4 separate regions of the Homo sapiens genome follow, and regions 2, 3 and 4 are each linked to region 1. Evidence: promoter capture Hi-C in 16 types of primary human blood cells and fetal thymus (Javierre and others, 2016). All regions are on one chromosome and are shown on one strand. The core of a region is centred on a gene start or on the middle of the fragment in contact, and the rest is flanking DNA. Distances in the headings are between cores, read along the strand shown.

Region 1 (3,504 bases), core at 602-3,101:
CTTATGATAAATGGGCTTCACTAGTAGTGGTTTGAGGCATTATTATATATTCATCTATGAAGATTATAAAGCATCTATTAATTCATTTATCCAGGAACGATTACTTTAAATCCCGAATATTCTTCTAATGAGGCAGAAAATAGTGTATTTTTTCTGTTATTTTAATACTTGGTTTTAACTTTTAAATGAAGGCTAAATCAATTAAATTAGTTAATTTGATCAATCAGTTTATAAATTTGGCAGGACACAATAGTTTTGAGTAAAAGGATTGCATGATGATGCATACCGAAACCCCCGTTTTAAGTCTCAGTCCTTTGGCAAATATATTCTGTTCTTTCATTGGTCCATTAGGTTCTCTCTGCTTCATATAATGCAACTTCAAAATTGGTATAACATTGTCTATGGATGCAGCTTATAAGGATCAATGATTTAAACATAATTTGTAATGTTCCAAAAATAATGTATTAATTTACAACCGTATCTGAAATTTGATACTTTTTTGGGTGGTTTGAAGAAAAGGAGTTGTTAGTAGGCATTTAACTTTTTAAAAAATATTAAAATCTGTATATCGACTGCTAATGGATAAAGTTCATCTGTAATATTGTTATGATAATTGAAGCAAACTACTTTGTGCCACAATACACCCTTTTCTCTTTTGTACTTCATAAATCAATGATTCTTTATGTTTCTGAACACAGATGTATGCCCCAGGGTAGAAGAAATATTTCTCATTTGCTTTCCTATTTTCAGTCTTTATCACAAGTAATGCTCATTTTGCAGACTGTACCTGTACTATGTACACATGGAAATTAAGGTGAGCTTAAATTCATATAATTTTTATTTGTGACCTTACTCTTGGGGTTAGAAGACTAATAAAAATATCAGCCACTTCTCTTGTTTGATGGAGCTGAAAGGGAAATGGAGAGATTAATGAGACTGATCAGGATTAGAAAGAATGAACAAATCGAGTAAATTTCCTCTCGGGCTCCGTCTCTCCCTCTATAAACATTTATTAAGCATCTAATTTAAAACTAAAAATTGTAAAAATGTCGGAAGGAAACAGTTGTTACATACACTCCTTTATTATTGTGAACTGAAAGCAGATTACAAAGTTTTAAAAATTATTCAAGGATATTCAGTGCACGCAGTCGTGAAATTTGATTCCAAGAGAGGTACGCGCATTTAGCCCTTCACTTAAACTGTATCATAAAGCCACTACAAGAGATGTACCTTCCCACCCTCACGTAATCTTTTTGCAATCACTGCTGGCAAGCCAACATTTGTGGTGATTTCAGATTAGGAGCCTGGCATCTTTGCTATAATCAAAACCTTATTCTCCCCTCTCCGCTCCTCCACTCCTTACCTTAATGAAAGTGCAAAAAACTAGTTTTACTGGGGAGGGAGGCAAGGAAGGAAGGAAGAGAAGAAGGAAAGGAGGGAGGAAAGGGGGTGGCACAGACCCAAGGAGGGAGTGAAATGAAGGAATGAGAGCGCTGTCCCTTTTTCTCGCTTTTGCTTTAGGAGCTCCCTGCCTGCCTGTCCCCGCGGGTCGGGGAGCTGCACCTCTTGCAGGCTCGGCTCTCGGCCCCGCCCCCTAGCGTCGGAGCCCGGGAGCCGCGGCTGCAGCCTATCTCTTTAAATGACAGCTGAGGCTCGGGTCCCAGTCCGGGGCTTGACGTCAGTGCCTCCTCCCGTGCTGCCAGGAGTAGTTAGCGCCACCGTCGGCGCTCCGGCCTCGCGGCACGCTTGCAAGCTGCCGGGGCGGCGAGTTTTCTTTGCTTCGGCCCCTCCTCCCGCCCTCCCCACGGAGAGCCGAGCAGCAGCCCTAGAGCCTCTCGCAAGTCTCTCTCACACTTCCCCGCCCTCGCCCCAAAGGAGCAGCAGCTCCTTCTTGCCTCTCCATTGCCGCCGCCGCACCGGCGGAGCTCCTCTCTCGCGCGTCTCTCCTCCGATGGAGCTCGGGCGCCGCCGACGCCGCCGCTGCCCCGAACCCTGAGCGGGGCCGCCCCGGTCGGAGGAACGCGCCGCCCAGTCCGAGGGCGCAGAGCGCCAGGAGCACGCGGAGGGCTGGGGCGCGGGCTCCGGGAACGAGAAAGTGCAGCTCTCTCGGGTCACTGGGCCGGCGGCGGGGGGACTATGGCTCTGAAGGACACGGGCAGCGGCGGCAGCACCATCCTGCCCATTAGCGAGATGGTTTCCTCGTCCAGCTCGCCCGGCGCGTCGGCCGCCGCCGCCCCGGGGCCCTGCGCACCCTCGCCCTTCCCTGAAGTAGTGGAGCTGAACGTAGGCGGCCAGGTTTATGTGACCAAGCACTCGACGCTGCTCAGCGTCCCGGACAGTACTTTGGCCAGCATGTTCTCGCCCTCTAGTCCCCGTGGCGGCGCCCGGCGCCGGGGCGAGCTGCCCAGGGACAGCCGGGCGCGCTTCTTCATCGACCGGGACGGCTTCCTTTTCAGGTACGTGCTGGATTATCTGCGGGACAAGCAACTCGCGCTGCCGGAGCACTTCCCCGAGAAGGAGCGGCTGCTGCGCGAGGCCGAGTATTTCCAGCTCACCGACTTGGTCAAGCTGCTGTCGCCCAAGGTCACCAAGCAGAACTCTCTCAACGACGAGGGCTGCCAGAGCGACCTGGAGGACAACGTCTCGCAGGGTAGCAGCGACGCGCTGCTGCTGCGCGGGGCGGCGGCCGCCGTGCCCTCGGGCCCGGGAGCGCACGGTGGTGGCGGCGGCGGCGGCGCGCAGGACAAGCGCTCGGGCTTCCTCACGCTGGGCTACCGGGGCTCCTACACCACCGTGCGCGACAACCAGGCCGACGCCAAATTCCGGCGTGTGGCGCGCATCATGGTGTGCGGGCGCATCGCGCTGGCCAAGGAGGTCTTCGGGGACACGCTCAACGAGAGCCGCGACCCCGACCGGCAGCCGGAGAAGTACACGTCCCGCTTCTACCTCAAGTTCACCTACTTGGAGCAGGCCTTTGATCGCCTGTCCGAGGCCGGCTTCCACATGGTGGCGTGTAACTCCTCGGGCACCGCCGCCTTCGTCAACCAGTACCGCGACGACAAGATCTGGAGCAGCTACACCGAGTACATTTTCTTCCGTAAGTTCGCAGCCCCGGCGTTTCCCAGCACCCCTCGCCCCCTGCTGAGCCGCCGCCAGTTTGAGCCCCGCTGGAGGCCCCGCGGGGGTGTCCGGGGCAGGCGCTGGTTAACTCCTTATAGAGAGCGGCTCTCCCTGCACGATTCCCTTATGCAGTAGACACGATTTACATTTCACCGATTCGGATATTTCCGTCTCTACTCCCCCTTTCTAGAACTCAGTAGCACCCAGCTCCCAGCTGTCTACTTGCTGAACTTTATTGATCTTGCCTTCTCGGCCCAGCCCGCTCCCAGATGCCAGGGTCTCCTCGGTTGCGGAGGACAGGGTGGGAGAGACTGGGGCACAGGGCAGGGTGCATAGACCCTCCTCCACCCCTTTGCTTTTGCAGGACTGCTGGGGGTCATTTCA
Region 2 (3,313 bases), core at 618-3,117, 1.3 Mb after region 1:
ATCACATCCAATATGGCGTGAGGGTGACTTGTGAAAGTAGCAACAAGAATCAGATAGGTAAGTGAGTCTGTGCTGGGGCCCTTGGCATTTCTTATCCTGCACTTGGAGTGCTTGGTGAAAGACCCTAGAGAACTAAGCTGACCCACAGACCAGGAAAGTCATGGTTCAGAACAGAAGCTGCTTCAACAGAGACTTCAGGCTTGGGAACAAATGGCCAGAACCACAGTGTCCAGCAGTGGGGCCAATACATCAGTGGTGCTAACTAAGACATGTGTAACTTTCTTACAGACTCAGATGTTTTTAAGGAAATCAATTTCCAGATTCTCAACTTTCATAATTTGTCTTTATAAAAACTTACCTAACTGGGAGCATTCCTGCATCCACAATACCTGTTTTTCACTTTTACAGAAAAGATACAGCCCTCACCCATCCAAATAAACATATAGTTGAAAATATTTATTTTATATATCTCTCTTTTAGTTATTAATCAACCAAAATGTAATAAATACACAGGGCTTCTTTTTTCTTATTTTTATATGTTTTTGTTAAGGTGGACACATAATACTATAATGGAACACTATGTCGTGAGTTGGAATCTTCTGAGTTCAAATGTTGTGAAATAGAGTGGGTGACAACAATTTTTGTTTGACAACTTTTTCTCTTTTATTTCAGGCTATTGTCAAAGAAGGTGTAAAGTCTGAGGTAAAATCTCATAAAAATAAAGCAGAGCATTGGAAATAGATATTGAACCCTAAAAATGCTTTTTTTTGATAATTTGCTTTGTATATTCTAACTACTCATCTCCAGAATTTGTCATTAACTTTTTTTTAAAAAGCAACTTAAAAACAGATACAGTAGCAAAGGCTTATGATATTGGTTCTTCAAACATAACAAATGTTTTGAAAGACTACCATGGCTTTCCTGACACATTGAATAAAATTCACAGGTAAAACTCATATAATTACTGTCAGAGTTGGTATTTAGAATTCAATATGATAATTAAAACCAATAATCTCAAGTGAAATCATGAAACATTTACTCCTTTTATTTTTAATTATCGTACAATATACTTACCTTTTTCTTATTACTATGAAAAATTAACATATGCCAACTATCAGTGTCTTAATTTTCAGTACTAGGTATTGTTTCCTTTTATAGAAGACAGAGAAAATTAGATTCTAGCATCTAACAAAGTTAATATGGTTCTTTTCATTTTAAATCATTAATTTTTATTGTATTATTTCCAAACCCAAACAAATGAATTTGCTATATATATACATTTATTAAAGTAACAGCATGCCTATTGTGGGTTGGATTGTGTCCCTGAAAAATATACTGAAATCCTTACCCCCAGTAGCTGTGAATTGAACTTTTTTTGGAAATAGGGCCAGTGTAGATGATCAAGTTAAGATGAGGTCACTTGGTTGGGCCCTAATCCAGTATGACCAGTATAATCCAGTATGACCTGTGTCCTTATAAAAAAGGTAAAATGTGGACACATATACAAACACATATAGAGGAAAGATGATGCGAAAGCACAGGGAAAAGTCCATCTACAGCTATGTAATGCCTAAGGCTACCGGAAGCTAGGGGCAAGCCCTGGAACAGATTCTCCCTCATAGCACTCAGAAGGAATCAGTCCTGCTGGCATCTTGATTTCAGACTTTCAGCCTACAGAACTGAAGACAATACATTTCTCTCTTAAAAGGCTTCTAGTTTGTAATATAAAAAACTAATACAATGCCTTTTATCATATGTCTTATTTTATAAATAACAATTTTCACAAAATATTGTATAATATATGTATAAAAAAATCATATTGATTTATTTTGAATTAATTATATAAGATGCAAATTAATTACATTGCATTTACCACATTTCCACCTTGATTAGGCTGCTTATAATGTATATTTTAAAGTGCTATAATTTTATTTTTTTATTTTTATTTTTATGGGTACATAGTAAGTGTGTATATTTATGGGATACATGAGATTATTTGATACAGGCAAGCAATGTGGAATAAGCACATCATGGAGAATGGGGTATCCATCCCCTCAAGCATCTATCCTTTCAGTTACAAACAATCCAATTACACTATTTAAGTTATTTTAAAATGTACGATTAAGCTATTATTGACTATAGTCACCCTGTTGTGCTGTCTAACAGTAGGTCTTATTGATTTTTTCTAACTACATTTTTGCACCCCTTAATAATCCCCACCTTCCCTGCCCAGTCCCCTACAACCGTTCCCAGCCTCTGGTAACCATCCTTCTACTCTCTCTGTCCATTAGTTCTATTGTTTTGAGTTTTAGATCCCACAAATAACTGAGAACATGCAATTTTTGTGTCTCTGTATCTGGCTTGTTTCACTTAACACAATAATTTCCAGTTCCATCCATGTCATGGCAAATGACTGGATCTCATTCTTTTTTGTGGCTGAATAGTACTCCATGTGTATATGTACCACGTTTTATTAATCCATTCATCTATTGATGAATGCTTACATTGTTTCCAAGTCTTAGCTATTATAAACAGTCCTGCAACAAATATAGGAGAGCAGATATCTCTTTGATATACTGATTTCCTTTCTTTTGGGCATATACACAGCAGTGGGATTGCTGGATCATACAGTAGCTCAGTTTTTAGTTTTTGAGGAACCTCCAAACTGTTCTCCATAGTGGTTGCACTAATTTACAATTCCACCAACAGCATACAAGGGTTCCCTTTTCTCCACATCCTCAGCAGCATTTGTTATTGCCTGTCTTTTAGATGTAAGCCATTTTAACTGGAGTGAGAAGAGATCTCATTGTAGTTTTGATTTGCGTTTCTCCAATGATCAGTATTGTTGAGCACTTTTTCATATGCCTGTTTGCCATTTGCATGTTGATATGGTTTGGCTGTGTCCCCACCAAAATCTCAACTTTAATTGTATCTCCCAGAATTCCCACGTGTTGTGGGAGGGACCCAGGGGGAGGTAATTGAATCATGGGGACCGCCTTTCCCATGCTATTCTCATGGTAGTGAATAAGTCTCATGAGATCTGATGGGTTTATCAGGGGTTTCCACTTTTGCCTCTTCCTCATTTTCTCTTGCTGCCACCATGTAAGAAGAGCCTTTTGCCTCCTGCCATGATTCTGAGGCCTCCCCAGCCATGTGGAACTATAAATTAAACCTCTTTTTCTTCCCAGTCTTGGGTACATCTTTGTCAGCAGCAAGAAAATGGACTAATACAGTAAATTGGTACCAGTAGAGTGGGGCGTTGATGAAAAGATACCTGAAAATGTGGAAGAGACTTTGGAACTGGGTAACAGGC
Region 3 (3,328 bases), core at 120-2,619, 1.4 Mb after region 1:
ATCAGAGTAGGCTTATACAGTAGTGCTCCCTTCTCTGGAGGATACATTTCAGGACCCCCTCGTGGATGCCTGAAACCAAAGATGGTACGGAAGCCTATATATACTGAGGTTTTCTCTGTATATATATATATACCTCTAACAATTTATAAATTAGGCACAGTAAGAGATATCAACAATTAATAGTAAAATAGAATAATTGTAATAATATTCCAGCATCACAACTCTTGCACTTCAGGGTCATTGTGAAGTAGAAAAGGATTACTTGACCATAAGCACTGCTATACCATGAGACTTAGATGCCTTCTTTTTTTTTTTTTTTTTTTTTTTAAGATAGAGCCTCGCTCTGTCACCAGGCTGGAGTGCAGTGGCGCATTCTTGGCTCACTGCAACCTCCTAGTCCCTGGTTCAAGCGATTCTTCTGCCTCAGCCTCCTGAGTAGCTGGGATTACAGGTGTGCACCATCACACCCAGCTAATTTTTGTATTGTTACTAGAGACAGTTTCACCATGTTGGCCAGGATGGTCTCAATCTCCTGACCTCATGATCCACCTGCCTCGGCCTCCCAAAGTGCTGGGATTACAGGTGTGAGCCACAGTGCCCACCCCCTTAGACGCCTTCTAAGTGAGTAACAGGCAGAAAGCATGTATAGTGTGGAGACACTGGACAAAGAGATGATTCACATGCCAAGGGACAAAGCAGGATAGTGCAAGATTTTATCATACTACTCAGAACGGTGCACAACTTAAGATTTATGAATTGCTTATTTCTGGAATTTTCCATTTAATGTTTTCAAACTGCAGTTGACTGTGAGTAACTGAAACCATGGAAATCAAAACTTTGGATTGTTTGGGGAATACTGTGTATCACGAAAGGTGAACAAAGACACATTAACCAGAAACTAAATTCCAGCAACCATCTGATAGCAAACAATCTTAGGAATTTAGTAGGTTTATTGTCTTTTACCGATGCATACAAACAATTGAGCCAACCATGTACTTTAGGCTGCATCAAGTTGTCTACTTTTTAGATACTGTTAGTGAATTAAAGCTGTTTTCTTAATTTAGTGTGCAATAAACTTTAAATGGGTTTTTAACAATTCCTAATAGTTGTACCAAGCAATCAGACTTTAAGGAAAAAATCTGAATTATGGAGAATGGCCTGATCTTGGGATATCTTGAGGGAAAAAGTGGACCTGAGGATGGGAGAGGCATAGGAGCCAAAGACAGCAAAGGAGAATGGCCTCACTGTTGTATAGGAAATAAAGAAAGATGCTTTGTTTTTACTTCCAAAGAAAGGGGAGTGGATGGAAGAGACTTGGAAAGGTGAGGATGAGGTGACAGTATGTGCAGTGACAAGATGGGACCAACTAAGGCTGTGTGGTGAAGAAGCCTGAAAGGCTGTGCAGTCGAAGGACCTTGAAGAAGCTCATGTTTAAGTGGAAGCTGTCTTTTTTAGTACAAAGCAAGACCCTCCTTTGTCTCTCCTCACACCCAACTCTGAGCATTGAGTAAATTCTATACACACATGCTTTGTAGGTATGATGTGCAGAGAAACCAGAAATGAGCTGAATTTAACATCAAGGTTGACTGTAGTGCAGGACACAGACTATACAAAGAAGAAATACACCTGAGGCAGAAAGGATCATAAGAATGCAAGCCTGCCTGCCCTCATCACTCCTTCATTCTCAATAGTGGACATGCACCAAGAATGCAGTTTTGCAGCTTTTAATATTTCCTATATCCTAAGTGGTCAGGGACCTCGGTTGTTATCTGGATTGTGCACCTATGAAGTCATTTCTTCCTAAGTTCTATTGACTTAAAATACTTTTTGACAGCCAAGAAGGATCTAATATAGGTACCGGACATCAAGTCACCAATGTTAGCTGTATTGCATGCCTGGGAAAGCCAAATCTACCAATTTGCCAATCATTTTTTAAAGTAAACTCTCAAAACTTATCTCTGACACACAAAATTCCAACTATTGACCATAGTCAAGAAGAATGATCAAAAAGGTGAAAAACATTTCTTCTGTTTAAATTTCCATTTTCAGAGGTAATTATTCCTTGAAACAAGACCCTCTGCCTTATGGAAAAGTCAGAACACATGAAATGTTTGGGACAGATGATGTCCTGTCAGGAAATGCCACAAACATGAAATTCAAGCATGTCGGCCCAAATGCAAACCTGCTGTGTTTTCTTTATTTTTTATGAAGAACCACAAACAGACATTTTTTTCCTTACAAGCCTGGCCATTTTGACAATGTTTAGTCAATCATTAACATTTTTACAATGTATCTTTCACTTGCGTTTTTGTGATATTGTCTTCAGAGACTGTCCTTTCCATATTTTCTATTATTTTCCAGATGTGTGGAGGTAGTATTTATACTCTACTTAATTACATGTGCATGGAACATTTGTACATGAATAAAAATGTGGCACTCTCCATTTATAGATTAGAAGTTTTGGTGTATTCTTTTCAAGTTTATCTTTATTAAGAAAGGGGTCAGCCAACAGAAGAAAAGTAAGAATGGAAAGGAAGTGGATGAATTTGCTGATGTTTTTCAACAGAGCAGAGTTAAGTGATAGGAAACATATTTTTATGGACTCACGTTCAGAAGGCCCTGTTTTAAACTTTGCTCTATCATCTCCTGGCTGTGAAATGTTGGCTGTGAAATGAGGCTCACCCAGCCTCAGTCCCTTTATTTGGAAAATGGGGGTAATAATTGCATTTACCTCATCAAACTGGAAGGACCATTGTGCCTGACATAAAGTAAGAAATATACGCTTTTAAAAAAGTATTATTCTCTTCTATTTTAAAATGTAGGTTTTATTATTATTCAGGTATGGTGAGGCCAACAGATGAGAAAACAATTGACATGGAAAAGAGAGTTTGTACTCACAGTTCCCGAGAGGAGGGAGGAGGCACGCCATGCCATGCAGGAGCCACACAGGGAAGAACTGGGATCATTAGGAGGCAGAGGGAGAGAGGCAGAAATGAGGGCAGGGGCCTTTATTGTGGTTTCCATGGAAAAAGCAAGGCAGGGTGAACAGGCTTACGATTGGCTGCTTTAAATAACTTCAGTGGGCTCTGGGACAGAAAGGCCATCCCTAGTTTTCTGATTCCGGGCCCTGGGGTGATCAGGGAGATGGCGCACCCTGAGTGTGAGAGTCCCATAGGGGAGGTGACTGTGGGGAGGAGCTCCTTTGCATTCAAGACTCATTTGCAATCAAGACTCGTTCTTGAGCAAGTCCTTTGCTATCTCTAGGAATTAGATGACCCTGGAGGAGCAGTCTCTCCAGTGTTAGCAAGGTCCCAGATGTTAAAGCCTC
Region 4 (3,510 bases), core at 979-3,478, 1.4 Mb after region 1:
CATATATGTCTATATGTTTCTACCTTTCTGCTGAGTCTTATGTAGGTTTTGAGTTTTAAAACTGATATAACTAATACAATGAATTAGCAAGGTATTTGGAAAATATTCAGAAAGCAATACTATTCTTTATCTTAAATTGTCCATCCAAGCTTGGCAGGTTCTTTCTCTGAGTCCGGGAGAAATTTTAGTCAGATTTCCTATAATCTCTAACAGCTTTGATAAATAATGGGCATACAGTAGACTGCATATACTTAAAGCACATAATGTGATAAGCTGTAACATCAAATATATAAGTATGTACTTTCAAACCCATTATTTCAATTAAGGTGGTAAATCTCCACCAAAAGTTTTATCATGCCCCATTTTAATTTCTCTCACCCACCCTTTTCATTCTCCATCCCGAAGCAATCACTGATCTGCTTCTCTCACTATGTTAAGTTTTCTAGAACAGTATATAAATGAAATCATACAACATGTAATTTTGTTTGTCATATATCTTTCATTCCACACAATTATTTTGAGATTCATCCATGTTGTAGTGTGTATTCGTATTTCATTCCTTTTTATTGTTGAGTAGTATTTCATTTTAAGGATATACTATAATTTTGTAAAACCAGTTACCTGTTGATGGGCATTTGTGCTGTTTCCAGATTTTCACTAAAATTACTATGAATATTCAAGTACAATATTTTATATGCACATATATTTTATAGCTTTGGGTAAGACAAAGATTTTTTACATATAAAACTAAAAACAATCTACAGAAGAACGAATTAAAAATGTTTGCTTTTTAAAAAAACACCGTAAAGAACATGTAAAAGCAAGACAAAGACTAGGAGAAAATATCTGCAAATCATATACATGATAAATGGCTTATTTGCAGAATATATTTTTTCAATCACAAAACTCAATAATAAAACAAAATAAAAATTGGGAAAAGATTTGAATAGACACATTATCAAAGAAGGCTTAAGGGTGGCAAATAAGCATATGAAAATTTGGCAAATACTATTAGTTATTAGGGAAATTCAGAGCAAAACCTCAGAGAGATACCACCACATACTTACTTACTGAAAGTAAAGACTGATCATACCAAGTATTGGAGAGATTGTAGAATGAGAACTCTCATATAATGCTGGAGGGAATTTAACATTGTTATGATCACTTTGGAAAACAATTAGATCATTTCTTAAAATGTATCATTCCCACAGTTTTACTCCTGATATTTACTCAAGAGAAATGAAATAATAAGTCTGCAACATTTTTTTCACTCTCAGGTAATAAAAGTTCATCTAGCCATATTTAGTCATCAAAAGTTTTTATCACTCTCAGGTAATAAAAGTTCCTCTAGCCATATTTAGTCATCAAAATAATCTTTTTATGCTGAGTAAAATTTCCATTTTCACATAGTAATGGAAACTCTAAACTACAGTCAAAATCAAAGCTTCTTCTCTCCCCAAGCTCAGCCTTGCTTAAAGTTGATAGCCTGAAGAGGAAAAGGGTTGCATGACTAACCTCTTCTTAGTCCCTCTTCAGCCATCAAATCCTTCATCCCTACATCACTAGCTGAGAGTTCTGTTCCTTCTGAGGGACTGGCCCAGGAGAAAAACATACCAGGATCTCATATGACAGTATCAGAATAATATGGTTTCCTTTGGTTTAGGTCGAACTGACCTTTTCCTTTTTTTTAAGAGATTATTTGTGGGCTTCAGGGAGATATTCCTTCCATACCACTTCCAGTTGCTGAAATGTCTTGTTGCAGATCCCTGACATCTCTGGCAGGATACTTGTGACTCCTCATCAGATTTGGGAAACCAGATACCATGCCCCTATACATATTCTTCATGGACTAGCTCTCTCATCCATGGGGCTCATATCTCATCCTCAGAAAGTACTAATGCATGGTTCAGCTTAAGTAACTCTGGGAGTCAAGGTTATTGCCAAAATGACAACCTCTTCTCAGAACTGGACACAGTGTCTCAAGATGATGGCTCACAGAAAAGTTTTCTGTAACCCCTGACCTCCAGGGACACAGTTCAAGCTCTCCAAGGCCTTAAGGTGAATGGAATATACCACTAATTTTTCCTCCGTGGGAATTGGCATCAGGACTCTTAGTGCCCTTTTTAAATGTGTTGATGTTAGAGTGTGAAGAAATACTTCTATTTTCCAAACAACAATAACTTCAGCAACTTGAACTCTTTTGACCTTAAAAGGACATGCAGAACTATTTATCACAAAACTGATTTTTGAGCATGTCTTTATAACCCTATTTCATTATGCTCACACCTTACTTTAGAATGCAGAAGTGCTTGCCATATATATATATACACATATATTCATACCTATATTCATACATACATATATGAAAAATTATATAATATATATACACACATACATATATATATGTATACACACATACCTATATCTATGTGTGTGTATAGATACATATATATGAGAAAAGAAATTCTCTTGGGACCAGAAATGGAGATGCAGCTCTAAAAGAAAGAAGCCAACCAGAGGTACAGCTCTAAACAAAAGTAACCTCCATGGATCTGAAGCTGACTCTGCACTAAAGCAGTGAGGAGATCTTTTCTTTAAAAAGAAGAATAATGAAGACATAAAGCACTTGAGAATCCCAAAATATGTGAGGAAATTCAACACCAGCACGTTCCCAGCTAAGGTGGAACAAGGTGACACTTCGACTTCTTGTTTCAATTCTCATACCGTGAACAACTGTCATGGTCTATATAGTGCCATGTTTTTCACACTTTTGTACTTTTTGTTGGTGATTCCCTTGCCTAAAATGGCCCTTAAGCATAATGCTGAAGTGTTGGCTAGCATTCCTAAGAACAAGAGGACTGTGATGTGCCTTTCAGGGAAAATAGGTGTGCTACATGCAATTCTTTCAGGCGTAAATTATAATGCTGTTGGCTCTGAGTTCAATGTGAATCAATCAATAAGACATCTTAAGTAATGTTTGCTTAAACAGAAATATACATAAAACAAGCTTGGGTATTCATCAGTTGATGAAAATGCTGTGACCAGAGGCTTACAGGCACCTAACCTTGTATTTCTCCTAGAAGCAATGGTTCAATAACTCTTAAGTCAGTGTTCCCGGAGCCATTATAGCATATAATTGCTGTGAATAACAAGAGTCAACTGTAAATAAGTAAATAAATAGCAACCATATTAGAAAGAAAAACATGAAACTCCTTATTCACAGACAAATCAGCTCTACCTAGAAAATCCTATAAAAATGGTACTAGAATGTATTAGTATGTTTAGAGAGTTCATGAGATAGTTAATACACAAAAATAAATTGCATTTCCACATAAAAAATCAAGCAATCAGAAACTGAAATTTTTGAAAAAAAATAACAGCACAAAAATATATATATTGCTTATGGATGACCTAACAGAAGAAGTGAAACACCTGTACACAAATACAAAGTATTGCTGAGAGAAATTAAAGACCTATATAAATACAGAGACATATATGTTTATGGAATAG

What was found. Contacts are between HindIII fragments. The CHiCAGO score rates a contact against its expected background, and 5 or more counts as called.
Region 2: a fragment that was not itself captured here is called in contact with the fragment with the promoter of KCTD8 in region 1 in 2 of 17 cell types (naive B cells and total B cells); the score reaches 9.3 in naive B cells.
Region 3: a contact is called between a fragment that was not itself captured here and the fragment with the promoter of KCTD8 in region 1, in 1 of 17 cell types (M2 macrophages). The highest score is 6.2, in M2 macrophages.
Region 4: a fragment that was not itself captured here is called in contact with the fragment with the promoter of KCTD8 in region 1 in 2 of 17 cell types (naive B cells and total B cells); the score reaches 6.3 in naive B cells.

Annotation. Positions count from the first base shown.
Region 1 is chr4:44,447,156-44,450,659 of GRCh38, reverse strand. It overlaps KCTD8 (potassium channel tetramerization domain containing 8), which reads left to right and starts at 1,851. Exons shown (of 2, transcript NM_198353.3): 1 at 1,851-3,097. The coding sequence starts at 2,137. The HindIII fragment of the contact is 5,511 bases long and covers 1-3,504 here.
Region 2 is chr4:43,121,271-43,124,583 of GRCh38, reverse strand. No RefSeq gene overlaps it. Among named protein-coding and RNA genes, the nearest start is that of GRXCR1, 230 kb to the right of the region's middle. The HindIII fragment of the contact is 6,909 bases long and covers 1-3,313 here.
Region 3 is chr4:42,997,474-43,000,801 of GRCh38, reverse strand. The region is part of intron 2 of GRXCR1 (glutaredoxin and cysteine rich domain containing 1); the gene reads right to left. Among named protein-coding and RNA genes, the nearest start is that of GRXCR1, 110 kb to the right of the region's middle. The HindIII fragment of the contact is 4,303 bases long and covers 1-3,328 here.
Region 4 is chr4:43,085,546-43,089,055 of GRCh38, reverse strand. No RefSeq gene overlaps it. Among named protein-coding and RNA genes, the nearest start is that of GRXCR1, 190 kb to the right of the region's middle. The HindIII fragment of the contact is 1,563 bases long and covers 1,447-3,009 here.